2 separate regions of the Homo sapiens genome follow, and region 1 is linked to region 2. Evidence: promoter capture Hi-C in human tissues and cell types (Jung and others, 2019). All regions are on one chromosome and are shown on one strand. The core of a region is centred on a gene start or on the middle of the fragment in contact, and the rest is flanking DNA. Distances in the headings are between cores, read along the strand shown. Region 1 has its middle 26 kb from the start of GBP5. Region 2 holds the start of GBP1 (guanylate binding protein 1).

What was found. Contacts are between HindIII fragments. The study calls those that stand out against the background at their distance.
Region 1: a fragment that was not itself captured here is called in contact with the fragment with the promoter of GBP1 in region 2 in 1 of the 25 tissues and cell types used here (H1 embryonic stem cells).

Annotation. Positions count from the first base shown.
Region 1 is chr1:89,245,376-89,248,701 of GRCh38, forward strand. It overlaps the pseudogene LOC100421401. Among named protein-coding and RNA genes, the nearest start is that of GBP5, 26 kb to the right of the region's middle. The HindIII fragment of the contact is 3,645 bases long and covers 1-3,208 here.
Region 2 is chr1:89,063,581-89,066,972 of GRCh38, forward strand. It overlaps GBP1 (guanylate binding protein 1), which reads right to left and starts at 1,628. Exons shown (of 11, transcript NM_002053.3): 1 at 1,580-1,628. The region is part of intron 2 of LOC105378841 (a long non-coding RNA gene); the gene reads left to right. RefSeq lists an enhancer at 1,825-1,924. The HindIII fragment of the contact is 6,241 bases long and covers 1-3,392 here.

The DNA.
Region 1 (3,326 bases), core at 136-2,635, 180 kb after region 2:
AGGACATCCATCTCACGTGCAGAGACACACATAGGCTCAAAATAAAGGGATGGAGGAAGATCTACCAAGCAAATGGAAAGGAAAAAAAAGCAGGGGTTGCAATTCTAGTCTCTGATAAAACAGACTTTAAACCGACAAAGATCAAAAGAGACAAAGAAGGCCATTACATAATGGTAAAGGGATCAATTCAACAAGAAAAGTTAACTATCCTAAATATACATGCACCCAATACAGGAGCACCCAGATTCATAAAGCAAGTCCTTAGAGATCTACAAAGAGACTTAGACTCCCACACAATAATAATGGAAGACTTTAACACCCCACTGTGAATATTAAACAGATCAATGAGACAGAAGGTTAACAAGGATATCCAGGACTTGAACTCAGCTCTGCACCAAGTGGAGCTAATAGACATGTACGGAACTCTCCACCCCAAATCAACAGAATATACATTCTTCTCAGCACCACATCACACTTGTTCTAGAATTGACGACATAATTGGAAGTAAAGCACTCCTCAGCAAATATAAAAGAACAGAAATCACAACAAACTATCTCTCAGACCACAGTGCAATCAAATTAGAACTCAGGATTAAGAAACTCACTCAAAACTGCACAACTACATGGAAACTGAACAATCTGCTCCTGAATGACTACAGGGTAAATAACAAAATGAAGGCAGAAATAAAGATGCTCTTTGAAACCAAGGAGAACAAAGACACAACAGACCAGAATCTCTGGGACACATTCAAAGCAGTGTGTAGAGGGAAATTTTAGCACTAAATGCCCACAAGAGAAAGCAAGAAAGATCTAAAATCGACACCCTAACAACACAATTAAAAGAACTAGAGAAGCAAGAGCAAACAAATTCAAAAGCTAGTAGAAGGCAAGAAATAACTAAGATCAGAGCAGAAATAACTAAGATCAGAGCAGAAATGAAGGAAATAGAGACACAAAAAACCCTTCAAAAAATCAATGAATCCAGGAGCTGGTTTTTTGAAAAGATCAACAAAATTGATAGACCCCTAGCAAGACTAATAAAGAAGAAAAGAGAGAAGAATCAAATAGATGCAATAAAAAATAATAAAGGGGATATCACCACAGATCCCACAGAAATACAAACTACCATCAGAGAATACTATAAACACCTCTACACAAATAAACTAGAAAATCTAGAAGAAATGAATAAATTCCTTGACACATACACCCTCCCAAGACTAAACCAGGAAGAAGTTGAATCTCTGAATAGACCAATAACAGGCTCTGAAATTGAGGCAATAATTAACAGCCTACCAACCAAAAAGTCCAGGACCAGACAGATGCACAGCCAAATTCTACCAGAGGTACAAAGAGGAGCTGGCACCATTCCTTCTGAAACTATTCCAATCAATAGAAAAAGAGGGAATCCTCCCTAACTCATTTTATGAAGCCAGCATCATCCTGATACCAAAGCCTGACAGAGACACAACAAAAAAAGAAAGTTTTAGACCAGTATCCCTGATGAACATCGATGCAAAAATCCTCAATAAAATACTGGCAAACTGAATCCAGCAGTACATCCAAAAGCTTATCCACCACAATCGAGTCGGCTTCATCCCTGGGATGCAAGGCTGGTTCAACATACACAAATCAATAAACACAATCCATCACATAAACAAAACCAACGACAAAAACCACATGATTATCTCAATAGATGCCGAAAAGGCTTTTGACAAAATTCAACAGCACTTCATGCTAAAAACCTCAGTAAACTAGGTACTGATGGAACGTATCTCAAAAAAATAAGAGCTATTTATGACAGTCCCACAGCCAATATCATACTGAATGGGCAAAAACTGGAAGCATTCCCTTTGAAAACCAGCACAATACAAGGATGCCCACGCTCATCACTCTTATTCAACATAGTGTTGGAAGTTCTGGCAGGGGCAATCAGGGAAGAGAAAGAAATAAAGGGTATTCAATTAGGAAAAGAGGAAGTAAAATTGTCCCTATTTGCAGATGACATGATTGTATATTTAGAAAACCCCATCGTCTCAGCCCAAAATCTCCTTAAGCTGATAAGCAACTTCAGCCAAATCTCAGGATACAAAATCAATTGCAAAAATCACAAGCATTCCTATACACCAAGAACAGACAAGCAGAAAGCCAAATCATGAGTGAACTCCCATTCACAACTGCTACAAAGAATAAAATACCTAGGAATCCAACTTACAAAGGATGTGAAGGACATCTTCAAGGAAAACTACAAACCACTGCTCAATGAAATAAAAGAGGACACAAACAAATGGAAGAACATTCCATGCTCATGGATAGGAAGAATCAATATCATGAAAATGGCCATATTGCCCAAGGTAATTTATAGATTCAATGCCATCCCCATCAAGCTACCAATGACTTTCTTCACAGAATTGGAAAAAAACTACTTTAAAGTTCATGTGGAACCAAAAGGAGACCGCATTGCCAAGACAATCCTAAACAAAAAGAACAAAGCTGAAGGCATCATGCTACCTGACTTCAAACTTTACTACAAGGCTACAGTAACCAAAACAGCATGGTACTGGTATCAAAACAGAGATATAGACCAATGGAACATAACAGAGCCCTCAGAAATAACACCACACATCTACAACCATCTGATCTTTGACAAACCTGACAAAAACAAGAAATGGGGAAAGGATTCCCTATTTAATAAATGGTGCTGGGGAAACTGGCTAGCCATATGTAGAAAGCTGAAACTGGATCCCTTCCTTACACCTTATAGAAAAGTTAATTCAAGGTGTATTATGAAATTTTTGTAGTGAGTTTTCAGTTCTCTGAGATCAATTTTGTTCTCTTTGAAAACGGCTATTTTATCTTTCAACTCTTGAATAGTTTACTGAATCCTGCCAGGACTTCCCTGCATTTTAGTGCTGAACTGGACCCAGAGCCAGTAGACTTGTGGGGCATGTGACCTACTGAGATACCAGCTAAGGTGGCTAAAGGAGTTCTGGCATCACCCCTTCCCTAACCCTAGTCTGCACACAGCTCATGGCAACAAAAGGGACCCCTTCCTTCCAGTTAAAAAGAGGAGAGGAAAAAATAGGGAGGACTTTGTCTTGCATCCCAGATACCAACTCAGCCATAGCAGAATAGGACATTGAGTAGAGTTGTGAGGACCCTTTTCCAGGCCCTAACTCCCAGATAGCATTTCTAGACACACCATGGGCCAGAAGGAAAACCACTTCTGTGAAGGGAAGTCCTTGCAGGATTCATCACCTGCTAATTTAAGAGCCTTTGGACCCTGAATAACTAGTAGCTATGCCCAGGTACTACGTCAAGGGCCTCAGA
Region 2 (3,392 bases), core at 378-2,877:
ATTTGCATCCTGGCTGTATGTAAGGAATTCAATATTGATTCACTTATTAATTCTCACAGTGAATAAACATCCAACACAGTGAATCAGTATTCATAGTTTGATGTTTACCCTTAGAAAAATTTCCAAAGATTTTTAAATGTGTTCCTTCCTCCATCTTCAAATGATTATGCTTATTTCACTGCAATGAGGATTGACAAAGCTTCTCACATTGCCATTCTGGAAGTGGTAACAATGTAACATACTTTTGCAAATTTTATAAAACTATACAACCATGTGAAACACATGGCTAGGGAACCTTCCAAGGGCTCCTAAGGGTCATGTCCAAGAGAAGGGCCCTGAAACTTAAGCTTCATTAGAGTCACGATAAGATAGCTTCTAAGTCACTGAGGGTATGAATGCAAAATTGCAAATACTGAATGTTTCCTCCAGATAATAAGGATTAAAAGATCAAGAGGCAGATAAAGAGAGCTACCTAGGAAGTTGTTCAAATAAAATATATTTCCAGCGATACAGCTTTAGGATTTCTGTTTTGTTCTGTTTTCCATTTGGTAGGGTAGGAGAAAGAGAAATAGAAAGAGGAGGAATAGTAGGAGTGGAGAGGAGGATAAGGGGCTGGGAATGTGTGTGTGTGTGTGTGTGTGTGTGTGTGTGTGTGTGTGTGAGAGAGAGAGAGAGAGAGAGAGAGAGAGAGAGAGGAGCTGTCAGACCAGAGGTGATGAATGAGGCTAGTGTCTTGACAAGGCATTCAGGGGAAGACTTTGCAGAAGGCAGGATCAAAGTAGTCTGAGTGCATGGAGAGGTTAAAGTAAGCAAAGATATTTTCTGTAGAGATGCATTACAGGAGAATTAAAGAGGAAACACTTTTGGCCCTGCTCTCTACTAAAAGAAGACAAAATTGGAAGCACTTCAGTGAAGCAGTGGGGTTGAATTTCACTTCTAAGGGACAGGGATCAGTGGGCACTAGGAAATTAGTGAGTCTGGACTATTTCTAAAGAAAGTAATCCATTCTGAAACAAAGTTCACAAGTGTAATAAAAAGTATACTGTTTTCATGAATCTTCATCTTTCAGGCTGAGTTTCAGTTTTTTCTTTGTCTTTAACCGTGTCAGTGGGCTGCTTACTCTGCTTCTCATTTGCTGTTCTTTCCTTCCATGAAAAGAACCCGTTTGTAACTCTTCCATTTCTTAGCTGCATAGAAGCAGGATTCAGTCCATCACTGACGATGGAAATGTAATCATATCCCTAGTCAACATAGATAATGTCAACAAAGAGAAAGACTATCCTAGTACATTTCAAATGCTCAGTTTAGCCCCTGTCTACTGGTGCCTAATTCAACACAAGCACTGTAGTGGCACTTAAGGCCATGCTGTCCCTGATAACACCAGGATTTCATCTGACCTGCGTCCCACTTCAGGCTCATCTGCAGCCTAATTTGGTTCTGATGATGTTTAAGAAAATGAACTGACCTTTATAAATTCCTTCCCATCCCTGCCACAACCTTATAGGTTCCATATCACTGAGCTGAGATCCTTTGGAGCTAGAGAGAAAGCTGCTTGATGAGAAGTAGTAAAAGTTCTTACCTGTTCTTTTTCTCCTTAGTTCACGAGCACTGGCTTCTAGCACTTCTGTGTCTCTCACTGGATCCCTGGACTAATATTTCACTGTTCCGAAGTTGTAGGGCTGGGATTTCCTCATTGATGAAATATTTAGAAGCTAAGCAGATTTGTAATGGATTTAGAGTAATATGAAACTGAAAGTACTTCGTTCAAATCACTGACTCCACTACCATAAATGGAATTAGTGGAGTGTGCCAGTGGGAGGGTTTAAAGATTTCTCAACCAGAAGCTTCAAATTTTTTTTGTTGTTGTTGGAAATCTTAGAGACCATTTGTTGTCTAACAAAATGCCCATTAGGTTTTGAATACAATGATACATGTCTCATGGATTGAGTCAATTTGAGAAACCTAGAATGAGGAGGCATCATGTTAATTTTCAGCTACAATTTCCTAAAATAATAGACACACTCTCAATGGAGCTGCCTATTCTTTGAGAGGTGCAGTACATAAGGAAAGGACATGTTTAACACACTCATGAACACCTAACCCCTGGCACTTAATGCCCAGCACACAGCCAGGAGGGGGCTCCATGTGTTGTACTCATGTTCTAGGCTCAGTACTGATGGCTTTACATGAATCGCACAACTGAAAACTCATAATATTTCCTCATGGTTTTATAGAAACTGAGCACAGAAAGACTTTATTAGTTGTCTAAAATCATAACACTGTAACTAATCTGAACCCAAGCACTCATGATCCCATACCCTCTTCTTGAACCACTTCACTATGCTGCTTATTTACTAAGTGAAAAATTGTAGAAATATTTTATTTATAGGTTTTTTATTTTTAAATTTATTATAGTGTGATTTTATTTTTATAGATTGTTTTCTAAGAGCTGTTTGTGTTTTATGTCTAATTCAGTAATGACTTCTAGCATACAGAATAAGTGGCATTATCTCTATTTTACAGCAAAAGCAAATAAAATAGTAAAAAGCCTGAGTGAACATTTCATTTAAAAATATATTTATAGTGATGTGGTTTCACTTTGTTGCTTAGGTTGGTCTTGAACTCCTTCCTTCAAATGATCCCCCTGCCTCGGCCTCCCAAATTGCTGGGATTATAGGCATGAGCCACCAGACCCAACCTTGTGTGAGCATTTCTTTTTTTTTCTTTTTCTTTTTCTTTTTTTTTTTTTTTTTTTTTGAGATGGAGTTTCACTCTTGTTGCCCAGGCTGGAGTGCAGTGGCACGATCTCGGCTCACTGCAACCTCCGCCTCCTGGGTTCAATCAATTCTCCTGCCTCAGCCTCCCAAGTAGCTGGGACTACAGGCATGTACCACTATCCTGGCTAATTTTGTATTTTTAGTAGAGATGGGGTTTCTCCATGGTGGTCAGGCTGGTCTCGAACTCCCGACCTCAGATGATCCACCCACCTTGGCCTCCCAAAGTGCTGGGATTACAAGTGTGAGCCACCAGGCCTGGCCAAGCATTTCTCACTTACACATTAAAATTATATATTAGATGTATATAAATTGCAGATACAGTGTCTTTTCTCATTCATACTTTGTAAAATAATTTTATCTAAACTCTTTCTATCATCCTTCCTTAACACTGTAGCTCCTTTATTATTAAAACTACTTTAAAGTCTTTTACTTTTTAGAGCATAACATTCTTACATCTGTCAAAATTATTTGAACCATTTAAAATCTCTGCAGATTGTCCTGGAAGTGTAGGGGTGGGTTGCCCCTCCACACCTGTGGGTGTTTCTCGTAAGGTGGAACGAGAGACTTAGGAAAGAAAAAGACACAGAGACAAAGTAGAGAGAAAGAAATAAGGGG